Linked DNA regions of Homo sapiens: region 1 is linked to region 2. Evidence: promoter capture Hi-C in human tissues and cell types (Jung and others, 2019). All regions are on one chromosome and are shown on one strand. The core of a region is centred on a gene start or on the middle of the fragment in contact, and the rest is flanking DNA. Distances in the headings are between cores, read along the strand shown.

Region 1 (3,552 bases), core at 806-3,305, 290 kb after region 2:
GGTGCCAGCTTTCCTTGAGTCTAGGCCTTTCTGGTCTAGTTTCTCCAGAATAAATTTTACATCTTTTGACAAGGTGGTGGGATGAGTAGGTGCTTGGCTTTGTGAGGTTGCAAAGGAGACCTGAAAAGGTGTGTCCACCTGCAACCAGTTTTTAGCTCTGCCCCTCAACCCTGCTTCTGTCAACTGACACCCTCAACTCCTGAGCCTTTATAGGTTCCTGGGGGTAAATCAGGTTGTATCTCACTGACATCAGCAGGGACTCAGGCTTTAAATCTTGCCCCCTCCCAAGTAAAATGCTATTTCTCCAGGGGCTTTCCATCATCTGCAAATTGGCTTTTAATATTTTCATCCACTATTCTGATTTATTTGTCTATGTAATTTACCTCCTCTCTCCTCCGTAAAATTTTCCTACACTGTTATTTTTGTAGGGTTTCAGGAGGGAGCAAAAAAAAAAAAATCCAACTTTAAAAAAATGTTTTTTGAGATGGAGTTTTGCTCTTGTTGCCCAGGCTGGAGTGCAATGGCTCGATCTCGGCTCACCGCAACCTCCGACTTCCAGGTTCAAACGATTCTCCTGCTTCGGCCTGCCGAGTAGCTGGGATTACAGGCATGCACCACCACGCCCGGCTAATTTTGTATTTTTAGTAGAGACGGGGTTTCTCCATGTTGGTCGAGTTGATCCCAACTTTTTAATCAGCCATTTTAAACTCTAGATCAGATGGACTTCCCCAGTAATGTTTTCTTTGGGCTTATATAAAAATTACGGTGCATTCAGTGGCTCACGCCTGTAATCCCAGCACTTTGGGAGGCGGAGGCAGGCGGATCACGAGGTCAGGAGATCGAGATTGAGACCATCCTGGCCAACACGGTGAAACCCCGTCTCTGCTAAAAATACAAAAATTAGCCGGGTGTGGTAGCGGGCGCCTGTAATCCCGGCTACTCGGGAGGCTGAGGCAGGAGAATCATTTGAACCCCGGGAGTCGGAGGTTGCAGTGAGCCAAGATCGCCATTGCACCCAGCCTGGCGACAGAACGAGACCCCATCTCAAAAAATAAAAATAAAATAAAAATTAATAAAATAAAATAAAAAATTACGGTGCATTCCCTAAGAACATGCTGTAGGTGGCGCCATAGAGCAGTCCAGGGAGAAAGCTTATGATGTTTAATTTACATTCATAGCAGGAGAATTGAGTCTAATGACCCGTAGCGTTTGGAACTTGTGTTCAGGCACCTGACACAACTCCACATTTATGAACGCAAAAGTGCCTGTACAGTCTTTTCCTGAATCACATGTGTGTGGGAAGAGCAATGAGCTTTCTGTTCATTTCCCTTTGAAACAACCAAAGAAAACTTTGACCATTTGCTAAGGTGTTACCTTTCACCTGATGGCCACTGGAATTTCACACAGAGATTTTTGCTCTTTTTTTTTTTTTTTTTTTTTTTTTTTACCACTTTGCAAGAGCTATTGCACCCTGACGAAGCCAGCAGGAAGCCTCTGGGCAATGTCCTTGTGAGTCTGACGCCAGACAGTCAGTGACTGTCACCAGGCAAACTGCTGTCCTGAGCACCAGGCTTTACAGTTAAATTTGTGCTTGAGTAAGATTACAAGTTACTCCATGTTATGGACCTTTGGGCTTGCTCCCAAATGATTTAAATTACAAATATGAAGTCTTTTCCTTCTGCAGAAATCTATTGCATGGGCACAATCATGATACCAACTGGAGTTTATGGAAACCTTATTTACCTTTTCCAAAGCAGTTTCACAAACACCTTGTTGTCGTTGCTTCCGTTTCACGTGCAGAAACAGAAATGACAATGATTGCTGGTTTGTTTGGCTACGCTGGCTTGCCCTTGGAGTGCTTTGTGGTAGTCACAGAGACACACGCATTGTGTCAGGTATGACAAGTGAGGAGTTTAACTTTGCCCAGGCCACGGCAGAGGCGGATGTTAAACACAGGACTTCGGGCAGCACATCTCACAGGCTTTGCAATAGAGTGTGGGCCAGATGGTAAAGGCAGCAGAGAGATCAGTCACGCAGGGGACAGCCAAAGGGGCTCTTGGAGGTGGGGGTTCAGCCGGGCCTAGAGGGACTGGACTCAGCATTGTGGGAAGGAGACTCGAGAACATTCCGGCATGGTAGGGGCGGGGTAAGGAGGAGCCAGGTGGTGGCAGGAACTCTTTCAGGGAGAGAGGAACGCGCCTGACGCTGGTGCAGGCTGAGGGTCCGAGAGGGGGACCCCTCGACCATGTGGATGGTGGGAGGTGTCAGGGAGCAGTGAGAGCAGCTGGATAGATCAGATGAGACTGTGCCTTCTGGGGCCTGGAAGTCAGGCACATGGCTTGGACTTGACTCTAGAGGGACTCAGGGGCCATTAAAGGTGGAGTATTAATGACAGCAGTATTAAGGACAACACGGGCAGAAATGGCTTCAGGTTGTACAAGCTCATAGTCACTGATTAGTTGCTGGAGTTCAGTGGGTGGCAGTGGGAGGTACAGTTTGAACAGACCAGAGCACCTAAGGATGGGGACTCGGTAGGAGCTCACTAGGCAAATGCCAGCGGGGTGAGGAAGGACACTGGTGTGTCCAGGTTTCTCAGTTCCATCCCTCATGCGACACAACCTCATATCACTAACTACATGTCCTTTTGTTCTGGTTCCTCCCTGGCAGGAAAAATGCTGGCAGGTGGTGCAAGCAAGGACATCTATGCATAGAATTCTGACAGCAGCTGGACCCTCAACTTCTTCAGAAGACGAGAACCCTGCCTGGCACCGCTGGCAGGCATCTGGCCTGACACCGCTCTGGAGGCCTCCCACAAGCAGCAACCAAGCCAGAAAAAGTTGAGACCAGACCCGTTGTCCCTAAAGATGGGGCCCAGAATGTTGGGGTGAAGCTGTAGGAACAGGGTGAAAGCTGGTGGTGTGAGCAAAGAGACCAGCTATGGGGTGGTCAGGGGATTCCGGGAGGTGCATGGGTATGTTGCAGACCCCCCCAGGACAAGGGTGGCTGTGGAAGAATGGCAAATAAACACAAGGCAAAGTCTCAGAGGCTGTGCATTATGCCATGAGAAAACGTCGACGGCCAAGTTAGGCAGACAAGCCAAGCGGTCTCCACAAGAGTAGGCAGGGATCCAAAATTCAGAGCACCTGCAGCTTGCTGGGCATCCTCACTACACAGGAGGATGTGATGGCCACACATAGATCACCAGGAAGAGGGCTTGATCACCCTCTGCCATGAGCCGGCCCACAGATAGGGGACATTCTGCAAGAAAGTAAGATGCGTAACCCATGATCTAAGAGTTATCTGCCTCTGATAGACACACGAGTGGGCAAATATCAAGGGCAGAGTTATTTTTTTACATGGACTTCCCAGAGGCCAGATGATGCTGTGTGCGGGGTCTCCCAGGTAACAGTAAGGATGTTCTTTCTAGTCACCCGCATTGTTCTTGCAACTGACAGCTGTTCTCTCTTGGCCTGTCCTCAGTGGAAGGGGGTAATGCTACTTCTTAACAATCAAACAAGCCCTTGCACTCTTCTAGGATCTCTGGTGGGGGAC
Region 2 (3,429 bases), core at 280-2,779:
CAGTTGTTAAATTCAACGTCTCCTCCTACCCCTGACATCTCTCCTGTGTTTTCTGTTGGTAAATGAATGGCACCACCATCACTGCAGGTGCCAAAGGTGTCATCCTGGGATTGAGTCTTCTCTCGACTTTCACATCCAGTCACCAAGTCTTACTCCATTTCCTAAATTTCTCAAAACTACTCTTCCATGTGCTCTCCCTTACTCTGAAACATCATCACTCACTATTTCTAACAGGCATCCTTGCCTTGATTCTTAACCTACTCGGGCCTACTTCCATTGTTATTGCCACAGAGGGTTTTATAAAATAAAGTCAGCATGAACACCCCTCTGCAGTCTGCACATACACACCTTACCCTGGTCGAGTTCATAGCCTACTTGGTGTCTGACTCCCCCTTTCCTGCTGCTTCAACCTTGTCTCTGCCCACGTGCAACTTTGATCCCTGCCCCACTAAACTGGGTGCTGGCACAATGGTACCAAGCTTTTCTATGGCTCTGGCCTTCAGAATAGGACTTGCCTCCTTTACGTAGACAACTACTGCCTGTCCTTGAAGACTCAGATTCAACTCAGCTCTTTCAGAAAGCTTCATTTGAATGTCTTTTCTGCCTGGACCAGACTGTGCACCTCCAGGTCAACCTACTGCCACTCAATTACAAATTTCCCTTTTCATGCTTTCTACAATCTGGTGCAGAGTAAGCACTCAAAAAGTGTTCAGCTGATATATGGATTTTACCCAGAACTTTTGCTATGTACTTACTTTTTTTCTTTTTCTTTTTCTTTTTTTCTTTTTTTTTTTTTTTTTTGAGATGCAGTCTCGTTCTGTCGCCAGGCTGGAGTGCAGTGGCGCGATCTCGGCTCACTGCAACCTCCGCCTCCCGGGTTCCAGCGATTCTCCTGCCTCAGCCTCCCAAGTAGCTGGGACTACAGGCACGCACCACCACGCCCCGCTTATTTTTGTATTTTTAGTAGAGACGGGGTTTCACCATGTTGGCCAGGATGGTCTTGATCTCTTGGCCTCGTGATCCACCCGCCTTGGCCTCTCAAAGTGCTGGGATTACAGAAAAAAATGTCTAAATAGAGACAGGGGCGGGGGGGTCTCACTACTTTGAGCAGTTTGGTCTCGAACTCCAGACCTCAAGTGGTCTGCCTAGGCCTCCCAAAGTGCTGGGATTGCAGGTGTAAAACCACCGCGCCCGGCCAGAACTTCTGTGATGTAATTCTGATAACCACATGCTTCGCTTGAAGAAGGGGAGAGAGTAGGGATAATTTCATGTGTCCGGTCTGGGCAACCAACTTTAAGTTCTTTATGCTGGGATTTTGTTCAATTCTTGCCCTATACTTTAAAGAACTGGGGCAAGAGAATGCGAGTAGGAGGACGAGGAGTATGTTCTTCAGGCTGCTACTCTGCAAGGTGGTTTGGGACCACAGCCTGAGAAAGCCCTTCCAGCTCTGGAGTCATAAAAAGGGCGGGAGCCGTTTCTATAGCGACGGGAGGAGGGCGTGGCCGTCCCTTGCCCTCTGCCGGGCTCTCACAGCCTCCCGCAGCGGCGGGCGGTCAGCGCCGGCCTCATGCAGCTCCTCCCGCCGCCTATCCGCACCGGAACAAAGTAAGGGCCGCGGAGGCTCGTACTTCACGAGCAGTCAGGCGCGAGTACGAGGCAGGCGACGAAGCTTCTGGTCGACGGGGTCGTGGGGGGAGAATGAAAAGCGTGCAGAATGCAAGAGCTGACCGGGGAATGTGGGTCAGAGAGAGGCGGGCTGTGGTGCGCGGACAAGAAAATACAGTTGTAGTTTTTGCAGCAGCTGCATCCCCGGAATCCGACGTCAGTATACTTCCATGTTAAGATGCTGTCGCATCGGCGACTCCAGCTGAGTGCAGGACAGGGAGCGAGGGGTTCTGAGGAACTCAGCAGACCTATCCTGGAACTGTGCTTCCAGCCCTCACTGGGACGCCAGACTTTCTTCCTCCCTTTCTTTCTCTTCTTTACTGCATGTCCTCTTGGTAGTCGTAAGTGGGTCCACGACCACACGCCTCGCGTGGATGAGGCTCTGGCAGGCATTACTCATGTTCCCACCCAGCCCATATGCCCGGGCACCTCTGTGCTCAACCAGGGCCCAGCCCCTGACACAAAAGCGCGCGAAGGTGTGTGTAGATCACACACCCAGAGCTGCCACTCAGGAAATTCCCAATATTAGCAAATCTTTCCTTAAAAAAGAGATGAACAATGCACAATTTGAGGGTTTTTAAAGGCTATTCTGTGACATTTGCTGCATTTGAAATGTCCAGCAGCCCCTCAAAGCTTAGGAAAACCGTGACCCCTCTGACATGTCTTAAGCAACGGACAGCATCACCAATATTAATTCAAGCTTCACTGTCCAGGCTTAAGTGGAGACTCGGCAAAAGCAGGAGGCCATTTAGTGGAAAAGTTCAAACCGTGGAAACAACAAATGAAAATGTCCTTTGTCTTGCTTGAGCGATTTGATCACCTACATGTGGTCGGTATGTAAAACCTAGGAGTTCGAAGAAATTCTTCAAACATGCACTCTACCTTATTGTTTCTGTTACTTAAATCTGTTGTTTCTCTTGTTTGTTTTGGTCCTTATGGAGAAAGCAGAGGTAAATCGGAAGGGACTCTCTAGCAATATGCCAGCCACTCTTCCCTGACTTTGCCCTCTCCAACTCCACATATTGTTGCCTGCAACTTGGCTAGAATGCATAGTCCTCAAGCGTGTGGAGGACCCAGTGCTGGGATTTAGTGGTTTTAGCTGACTCTAAGCCCATCGTGAGTGTGTTGTGATGGCTCCCCAAAGAGCAAATGCTGGTGGAGGCTGCATTCATAGAAATGCAATGACCACATCAAAGAATATGGTCGTGCTGCCTGACTTAGCAATGAGTAGAACATAATCCAGACTCTAGAAACTGTAGCTACTTTGAGATCACAAAGAACTGGAAAATAGGAACAACCACAAGGCAGGCTCTCTCTGTCAGGCCTGGGTGTGCCATCACATGAAGAGAGGTTTGAAAAAACTTCACAGAATGCCTGGAGATGAGGAGATGCAAGGGAGAGAAAGCTTTTTTCTACTCAACTTTTGAACATTCAAGAACTCTTGAGTAGAAAAGAGATAGATTTGTTCCTTGGTACTCTGCAGAGGATAGCAAGGATCAGTGGAGGAAATTTTGCTCAATATAGTTTATTCTTCCAAGAAATATCAAGTACCAACCCTATGTAAATTAACAGTTGAGTGTGAAATGGGTTGCCTAGAAAAACAGTGCACTCTGTCATAGAAATATTCCAGCATAGACAGAGTGATTGCCAGGAATACCATAGAAAGAGGATTCTTCCCCAGGGTGGGAAAATGGATGACATGGTCTCCAAAACCTCTTCTAGCTCTTTAGAGTCTGGGAGTCAGTGAACCCTCAAGAGTCTCAG

The links. Contacts are between HindIII fragments. The study calls those that stand out against the background at their distance.
Region 1: a fragment that was not itself captured here is called in contact with the fragment with the promoter of DYRK4 in region 2 in 1 of the 25 tissues and cell types used here (hippocampus).

The regions. Positions count from the first base shown.
Region 1 is chr12:4,848,071-4,851,622 of GRCh38, forward strand. It overlaps a transcript of KCNA6 not described here. Among named protein-coding and RNA genes, the nearest start is that of KCNA6-AS1, 19 kb to the left of the region's middle. The HindIII fragment of the contact is 3,240 bases long and covers 436-3,552 here.
Region 2 is chr12:4,560,679-4,564,107 of GRCh38, forward strand. DYRK4 (dual specificity tyrosine phosphorylation regulated kinase 4) reads left to right here and starts at 1,530. Exons shown (of 15, transcript NM_001394779.1): 1 at 1,530-1,605. The coding sequence starts at 1,568. RefSeq lists a silencer at 1,365-1,659. The HindIII fragment of the contact is 2,169 bases long and covers 1-1,983 here.